Regions from separate parts of the Homo sapiens genome. Here region 2 is linked to region 1. The links are contacts of gene promoters, found by promoter capture Hi-C in blood cells and fetal thymus (Javierre and others, 2016). All regions are on one chromosome and are shown on one strand. The core of a region is centred on a gene start or on the middle of the fragment in contact, and the rest is flanking DNA. Distances in the headings are between cores, read along the strand shown.

Evidence for each region. The method cuts DNA at HindIII sites, captures the fragments that hold promoters and counts their contacts. A CHiCAGO score of 5 or more calls a contact.
Region 2: the fragment with the promoter of FAM178B here is called in contact with a fragment that was not itself captured in region 1 in 2 of 17 cell types (naive CD4 T cells and erythroblasts); the score reaches 6.0 in naive CD4 T cells.

Annotation. Positions count from the first base shown.
Region 1 is chr2:96,594,009-96,598,432 of GRCh38, reverse strand. It overlaps KANSL3 (KAT8 regulatory NSL complex subunit 3), which reads left to right. Exons shown (of 21, transcript NM_001115016.3): 21 at 2,802-4,424. The coding sequence ends at 2,822. Among named protein-coding and RNA genes, the nearest start is that of KANSL3, 42 kb to the left of the region's middle. The HindIII fragment of the contact is 1,832 bases long and covers 938-2,769 here.
Region 2 is chr2:96,984,725-96,988,835 of GRCh38, reverse strand. FAM178B (family with sequence similarity 178 member B) reads left to right here and starts at 2,256. Exons shown (of 17, transcript NM_001122646.3): 1 at 2,256-2,595. The coding sequence starts at 2,523. RefSeq lists enhancers at 2,178-2,698, 2,699-3,219. The HindIII fragment of the contact is 31,542 bases long and covers 1-4,111 here.

The DNA of each region.
Region 1 (4,424 bases), core at 604-3,103:
CTATTCTATTTGCTTTTATTTTACTTAGGATTTTGGCGTCTATATTAATCTCCTCAGGCTTTGGCCCATAGTTTTCTTCCCCTCCACCCCCTACTTCTGTGTGTGTGCTTTCCTTTGTCTAGTTATGTAAAAGGGGTAATTCAATCCTTGTAGAATGAGATGGGAAGTGCTTTTCCCCTCTCATACTCTAAAACAGTTTTATAGTACAGAAATGATAGTTCCTTGATGGGTTGATAGAAGTGACCTACAAAGCCATTTGGGCCTGTTTTTAGGGTGTCTTCGTTTGCTGATGCCATGTTGATGGACAACTAGAACACAGATCCTGCCACGTGATCCCTTCCTCCTGTGTTAGGTAATCCGTCTCAGCTTGCCATGGCCTGGGCCAGCCAGTTACCATTGAGAAGAGAGTAGAGGTCATTGAGAATCCCCCTTTTCTGGAGCTCAGTTGAAGCACAGAATAAAGATCAAGGTCTGGCCTTCTAACTGATGATGTTAACATGAGATTAGTTTTCATCTTAATAGAATGGACGTAGGCTGGGCATGGTGGTTCACGCCTGTAATCCCAGCACTTTGAGAGACCTAGGCGGGTGGATCACGAGGTCAAGAGATCGAAACCATCTTGACCAAAATGGTGAAACCCCATCTCTACTAAAAATACAAAAATTAGCTGGATGTGGTGGCGTGCACCTGTAATCCCAGCTACTTGGGAGGCTGAGGCAGGAGTATTGCTTGAACCTGGGAGGCGGAGGTTGCAGTGAGCTGAGATTGTACCATTGCACTCCAGCCTGGGCAACAGAGCCAGACTCTGTCTCAAAAAAATAAAATAAATAAATAAAATAAAGTGGATATGTAATTGCTAGGAGGAGTCAGGTGGTGATTCTTTTCCAACAAGCAAGGGGATGTTATTAGATTAAGGCTTCTTGCTGATTCAGAAGCTTCTAATAGCTCTGTTCAGATTGCCAGACAGAGCACTGGACTATGGGTCAGGTCATCTGTTTTCAGCCAGCTGTGTGATCCTGGGCAAATCACCTATCCTTCTGGGCTTTGGTTTTCTTACCTGGTTTAGAGAGGAAGTTGACTTAATTCAGTGACTGTTGTGGTGGCAGGATCAGAATCTCCTCAGGCTTTGGAAACCGACGTTTTTTAATGCTTAGAAACAAACTACCCATTTTTTTGACATTTATGAGGCAATTGGAAATTTTAACACTGACTGGATAGTTGTTGATATTACGGAATTGTTAACCTTTTTAATGTGTGATAATGGTATTGTTAGGATTTTAAAACAGTCATTTTTTATTTTGGGGTTCCATACTGCAATATTTTTGGATGGAATGAATTTAAAAAGAAAAGTGAACACCAACTAGACTTCTCTAAGATCTGTATAAGCACTTAATTATCTGTTTTGTTTCTGGCACTGATTGGTGTTTACTATGTGTTTCCTTCATGGGAATGGACTATTGTGTACTCATCACAGCTGAGAAGCTGCAGGGAGGAAGAGGACAGACAGAGACTATGTTGTGCCCTGCATCAGGGTCCAAAAAATGGACTCCCTGCCTGTGGTTATAAGTTCTCTCTCCTCTCTGTCCTGCTGGCCATACCAGGACCTTGTCAGCCTGGCAAGCAGCACCTCTAGCTGGAGGCCTCTGGCAGTGGGCCTCACTGTAGCCTTGTAGCAGGCTGTGGGCAAGCTGGCTCACTCTAAGGTGTATTCATAATCAGAACAGAGTGATCATCTGTGTACAGCCCTGCCTTTGGGCAGGGAAGCCCATGAGGTTTTGTTTTTGTTTTTGATTGAGATGGGGTCTTGCTATATTGCCCAGGTTGGTCTGGAACTCTGGGCTCCAGCAGTCTTCCCACCTCAGCCTCCCAAAGTGCTGGGATTGAAGTCATGAGGTTTGATTGTCAAACTCCTCTTCATTGGTGTGATTATGGCTCACTGCAGCCTCAACCTCTTGGGCTCAAACAATCCTGTGGCCTCGGCCTCCCGAGTAGCTGGGCCTATAAGGCATGCAGCACTATGCTCACCTAATGTTTGAAAAAATTTTGTAGAGATGGGCTAAGTTGCCCAGGCTGGTCTTAAACTTCTGGGCTCAAGCAGTCCTCCTGCCTGGCCTCCCAAAGTGTTGGGATTATAGGCATGAGCCACCTCGCCTGGCCTTCCCTCCTTTACTACATTCTCAGAGACCTCTTAGGAGTTTCCCAAGGGGGAAATTTAGAAAAGTGGGGAAAGCGTTGGTAAAAAAGGCCACCCTCTCTACTTGCTTCCTTATTCTTAAGCTGCAGGGCTCAACATTGATGGCATCCCCCCACACCTACATGTCTAAGGCCTCAAAATCAGAAGTCACGGAAATCTTCCCTTCTGTTCTGTTGCCCTTAAAAACTCACCTATTTCCTTTTTTCTGCATTCCTTTTCTGTCTTCATGTGTAATAATATGAGGTGACCTTTGTTGTTGAGCACAGATTAAACTCAGGAGCTTTATGTGGATTATTTCATTTAATCCTTACGGTGACCCTGGAAAGTAGATGCTGTCATCTACCTCTTACAGGCGAGGAAAAGGAGGCTCAGAGAACATAGGCACTTGCCTTAAAAAGTGGAAAGTTGAGTCTCTCACTCTAGAGTCCATGTTCTGTTAACCACTTGGCAGCTAGAACATGTGTCCTTGTGTATCCAACTTCTTTCCTATTGAGAATTAATTCTTTAAAATAAATTCTCAGGAGTTGGGATAATTGGGATAGAGGGTCTGAATATGATGATAACCTGTCAAAGCTTTGACCCTTCTTCACTACCTCTCCTGCCACAGCGCCTGCCTCCAGCACCCTGAAGATGCTGTGTGATATGTCCTCCTTACCAAGTTGGTGATGGCTGCCTCATGGTGGGCCCTGGACAGGTGTGTGGTCCTGCTGAGCTGTCCACGTGTCGGAAGACCTGTTTAAGACAGTCATTTTTGCCTCTCCGCCAACTGTCTTCAGAGAAACCATTAGGTTAGGTGATACGGTGCCAGCAAGGGAAGCACCATCGTCCAGGATCTGCAAATCTGGTTCCTGGGAACCCCAGACTCCTCAGCAGATCTGGCTGTACATGGATCAGAACCACTTCTTCCCCCGCTTAAGCTGTGGTTTGACCCAAGGGTCAGCATATAGGACTGCCTGCTGCATTTAATGAAGGTGTTTCCTTTTGGAAGTCTGTGCTACCCTCTGCGCCTAGTTGGGAGGAGACATCCATCTGGTCTGGGATTTCGGGAGTTAGAATGGAAAGCTCTTTGCTAAAGACTGGAGTCATCCTGGCCTGCCAACTGGTGGTTCAGAGCCGGACGGGCTTGTTTTGGACATCACTGTTGCCTTCACTCAGCAGCCACGGGAGAGTGCTCCCCATGCAACTCCACCTTAGAAACCACGTCAGATACTGAGTAGCTTGCTGACTCCTGGAAACTTCTGGTTTTTGTTAGTATCATAATGAAGGCAAAGAGAACTAGGCTGTCATCTTTCAGCCTCTTTGACTTACTCTAGATGTTGGGAGCAGTGGTTGCCAGGTGAAACCTGGGCCCTTTGTCTTTTTCACCATGCTTTGGGCAGTTTCTGTATCCAGAGAGTCCGCAGGTTCAGATAAGCTGAAGAAGAGTAATAGAACAGCAAAGGAAGTGGCTTGAAGGATGTGCTAGTAAGCCCTGTGGTTTGTGCTTAGGTCTCTGCTCTGCTACCCAAGGAACTGGTGGTTCAGCTGGAGATAAAAAGAAGAATTTGCCAAGTCAGAGAAGAAACCCCAACCCCGGAAAATCCTCTGTCTCCAGTCTCTGGAGGTGAAGCAGGGACAATAAGCTAAGGTAGTATCTTGGCCATCCCAGGAAACTTGTGGCATTAGGACGATGAAGGCCATGCTTCAGTGTTTTCGTTTCTATTTCATGAGACTTTTTGTCTTCCTGCTTACAAGTGGGAAGATGATTGACAGTGACTCTACTATGCAGGGCTGTTGGTACCAACCTGAGCCCTATAGGTGGCAGTCCCTGGAGAAGTGGTCACAGAAGATGGAGCTCTGATCCCCTGCTTACCTCTTCACAACACTTGTGTGCAAAGATAGTTTTAGATTTGGTTTAGAAGCTATCCTCCAGAACAGGCTCCCATACTTAGAATGTTTCTAGTTAAGGTAATAAATTAGGCAACCCAAGTGTGACTCCACTCAAGTGTCCTTTTCTGTAGGCAGGAAGGGCCCACAACATGGCTTAAAATGTAGTCCATGGTTCTGGCCCACAGTACAGTGTGTATCTATACCAGGTCACCTGTGTTCAATCTGGGAGCCTTCCTGGCCAGTCTGAGTGGCAGCCAGAAGGGAGCTCATAGTGTCTAGGAGTCTCAGGCAAGGTAGGTCAGGGTACTGTGGGCAGGGGGGATGTGTGTGATAGGAGAGGGTACCCTAAACCCCATACCTT
Region 2 (4,111 bases), core at 1,007-3,506, 390 kb before region 1:
TTGAGATGGAATCTCACTCTGTTGCCCAGGCTGGAGTGCAGTGGCACCATCTCGGCTCACTGCAAGCTCCGCCTCCTGGGTTCATGCCATTCTCCTGCCTCAGCCTCCTGAGTAGCTGGGACTACAGGCGCCCACCACCACGCCCGGCTAATTTTTTGTATTTTTAGTAGAGACGGGGTTTCATCATGTTGGCCAGGATGGTCTTGATCTCCTGACCTCGTGATCCGCCTGCCTCGGCCTCCCAAAGTGCTGGGATTACAGGCGTGAGCCACCGTGCCCAGCCACCCAACCTTTAATTTGCAGACTCAAGGACGTGAATGCCTAACTCCCTTGTTGCTACCCTCGTTGGGGGCTTCTTTAAAACCAATGAAACCAACTGAACCCCTTCTCATAGGAGCACTCTCAAAAGCCCAGCTGACCACCATAACACACCATAGTCCAGAGAATCCAGGACATTGCCAGCTGGGTGCATCTCTCTAGGATAAAAACTGTTTCCCTTACGTTTCCACAGGACTCTACATCAACAACTAAAAATTAAAAATCCTTTTGTAAGCCTATAGAAGACCTAACATTCATTTTCAAGAAAAGATGCCAACACCCCAAATAAAGAGATTAATATTACTTTAACATAAGGTAGTCCCATCTCAGGTCTCCTATTTGTAGGAGCTCTTTTTGTTCTTCTGCTTGCTGAATAATGATGTGATGCTTCATTCTGCTACCTTTCATGGGACCTACAATAGCCATCTTATTACTACTGACCTTTGGTCCTTGCTTGTTTAAGCTCCTTTAAAGTCTGTGTCTTCTAGGTTACAACAATTCCTAGATTGATAGTTATGCAAGGATTTCAACTTATCCCAGTGGAGGATATGACCCCTATCACTTTAAATCAGGCAAGAAGAGACTTTCGGGCCCTGGTCCTGTCTCAGCACGAAGCAGCTCCAGAAAAAATGACCCAGCCCTCCACATTTCATAAGAACATGGACCCAAAGTCTCTGAGGGGGAAAATGAGGTCGGTTAGATACAGTGGTCATAGCCTCCTTTAAAGGGGAATGAACTTGCCAGATTGATGTAGAGAACAAACCGCCCACTGGTGCATAAACTGCATCAGGCTCCTAGTTAGAACATCCTGCAGCGAAGAGGATGAACAGCAGAAGGGAAAATCCCCAAATTCACACAAGTGCAGAAACCCATGATTAGAGTGTCCTTGGAATGACCTATGCTCATTTTAATGCTAAAAAACACACCCCTGGGTGAGGAATTAAAATGCTAATGAGACATGTGATGTGGTGTACTAGCACGCACATGCACATCTGGGAGACCCCGTAACATGCTTAACAGTAATGCCCATTCCCGCTCCTTTATGAATAATTATGTAAATCTCCCATAAAGGGAAGCTCATCACTGCCAAACAGACACAGCTATCTCACACGTGTGTGTGTGTGTGTGTGTGTGTTAGAGATGGGGGCTTGCTCTTTCGCCAGGCTGGAGTACAGTGCCACGATCTCGGCTCACTGCAACCTCTGCCTACGCCTCCCAGGCTCAAGTGATCCTCTCACCTCAGCCTCTGAAGTAGTTGGGGCTACAGGCACTGCACCACTATGCCCGGCTTTTTTTTTTTTTTTTTTTTTTTTTTTTTTTTTTTTTTTTTTTTTTTTTTGAGACGGCGTCTTGCTCTGCTGCCCAGGCTGGAGTGCGGTGGCGCGATCTCGGCTCATTGCAACCTCCACCTCCCTGGTTCAAGCAATTCCCCTGCCTCAGCCTCCCGCGCAACTGGGATTACAGGCGCACGCCAGCCACCAAGCCCGGTTAATGTTTTTTAATTTTTAGTAGAGACAGGGCTTCACCATGTTGGCCAGACTGGTCTGGAACTCCTGACCTCAGGCAATTCGCCCGCCTCGGCCTCCCAAAGTGCTGGGATTACAGGCGTGAGCCACCGCGCCCTGCCCACGCCAGGCTAATTTTTGTATTTTTAGTAGAGACGGGGTTTCGCCATGTCGCCCAGGCAGGTCTCTCACTCCTGGGCTCAAGCAATCGTCCCGTCTCAGCCTCCCAAAGTGCTGGGATTATAGGCATGAGACACCGCGCCAGGCCACTGTCTCACTGTCTTGGTAAATGCAAGCTACTACAAGTGCGCGTGACCCAGGACTGCCTGGGGGCAGGAGCTTCCGCCAGCCAATTCCCGCGCACGTGGATGCGCACGTGGAGGGCGAGCAGGAAGAGGGCGCGCACGTGGAGGGCTAACAGGAAGAGGGTGCGCACTTGGCCGGCGAGCTCCCCAGCTGGCGGCGGCGGCGGCTGTGAGCTGGCCGCTTGGTTTGGAGTCGGAACTCAATCCCCAGAACTGGATCTTTAGGTTCCACGTTGGCGGCCCTGGATCTAGGGACGCAACTCTTGGGGTCCTCCCACTGCGCCGCCTGGGGAGCCTGCTCCTGCTTCCTTTCCCGGCTAGCTGGCCCCGTCCTCTGAGGCCGTGCGAATTCCCGCCACCCTCCCTCACCCCGGAGCCCTGCCCTTCCCGCCCTATGTGGCCAAGGCTTCCAGGTGCGGGCCTCGCTCCACAACTCAGGAGGCAGGATCAGCGGCTCCATTTTACAGGTAAGGAAACTGAGGCCGAGGAACCGCAGGGGCGCGTGGTTAGCGCTCAGAGAGCACTCGACTTCCCTGGGACTCCTGGCTGGTCCAGGCCTTGCAGGTCAGCCCCGGTGCGGCCGCCGGGCTACTCTGGCGCTTTTCAGGTTCCTGCGACCCCGCGTGGTTCGGGTTCCGACGTGAGCCGGGCCCTCCTCTCCACAGGCCACTGCGCGGCCGGCCTTGGTGGGGTGGAACCTTAGATTGGTTTGAGAACTGGTTTATGTTTTGGTTGATGTGGCATGTTTTGTTTTGATTTTTAATGTTCCCCAGGGTGCAAAGGGTAGCTGGTGTTTTCTTTCCAGAAAGGCTTTCTATTCCCAGCCCCTGCCCGGTTTGATGGATGTGGAGTTTATGATGCTGGAGACCGTTTTCTTTGTGGGTAGAACGCATCTCCTTTCATCTTTCAAATTGTGAGCTCAGTCCTTGCTGACAGGAGCCGCTGCTCTCGCCAGCATTCCCAAGCTATTAAATATTTGTTTAAAAGGATGGATATAAAACATGATGTTAGGAATAAGGCGTCTTGAAAAAGCAGTATTCGCAGAAACAGCACCATTGTAATATTCTGAATTCATCTTGGCTCTTTTGACATCAGGGCCCAAAGCACTTGGGATTCCGTAATTATTTGGCCTCATGCTACACTTTAAGACAGATTATTTTATTTTTCTTGTAGTCAGGAAAGTAAAAGAACAAAAAAACTGAGATGACATGTTGAAATCTCACTGCGAGGACGCGAGGGAGGATGAGGGAAGCGGGGAGGGCGGCTGAACGCTAAAGGCTGGGGCTGGGGTTTGCAGGATTCGGGGAGACAAGAGCCCAGGCAGAGGGATGTGCTGGGCAGAGGGGGCGCCATCCATGGGCTGCATTGTAGAGTGAGCATGGCCAAGTCAAGGAGCTGAACAAGACGACTTCAGTCCTGAACCTGGAAAGAATGTGAGATGGAGGAGAAACAGGTCCTGGCTGGCGGGTATTGGGCCCCAGGAGGGAAAGAGATAACAAAGTTAAGTTTGGAGACTAACGCTGTCTCCTGTTTGACTGGGGGGCCTTCATATCCCCTCCCACGCTGTCAGGACACGTACTGTAGGCACTGGAGCAGGTCACACCAACTAGAATGATCGGTTTCCATCCATTCCGGGATGCATTTTTGTTCACATTTTAGCAGCTCTGAAGTTGGGCTGGGTCCCACAGTTTGTGTCTTTCTTTGTGTCATCGTTCACTTGGCAGCTTTTTGTCGGTCTTAGTGGCACAGAAAGTCACAGTGCCTTAAACCCAGCAGCATCTTAGCTGTGATGAAGGAGTCAGCCATGGCCTGAGTCCAGTAACTGCAGGATCCAGAGTTGGAGACGCAGGCAGAGAAGATGACCCACCTCAGCCTGCACCCTTTTGTTGTTTATGTCTTTGTCTTTGAAAGTGCTTGTTTCAAGGCATGTGAGGGAGGGGATTGGCAAAAGCAAAAACCTGGAAACAACAGATAGACAAATGA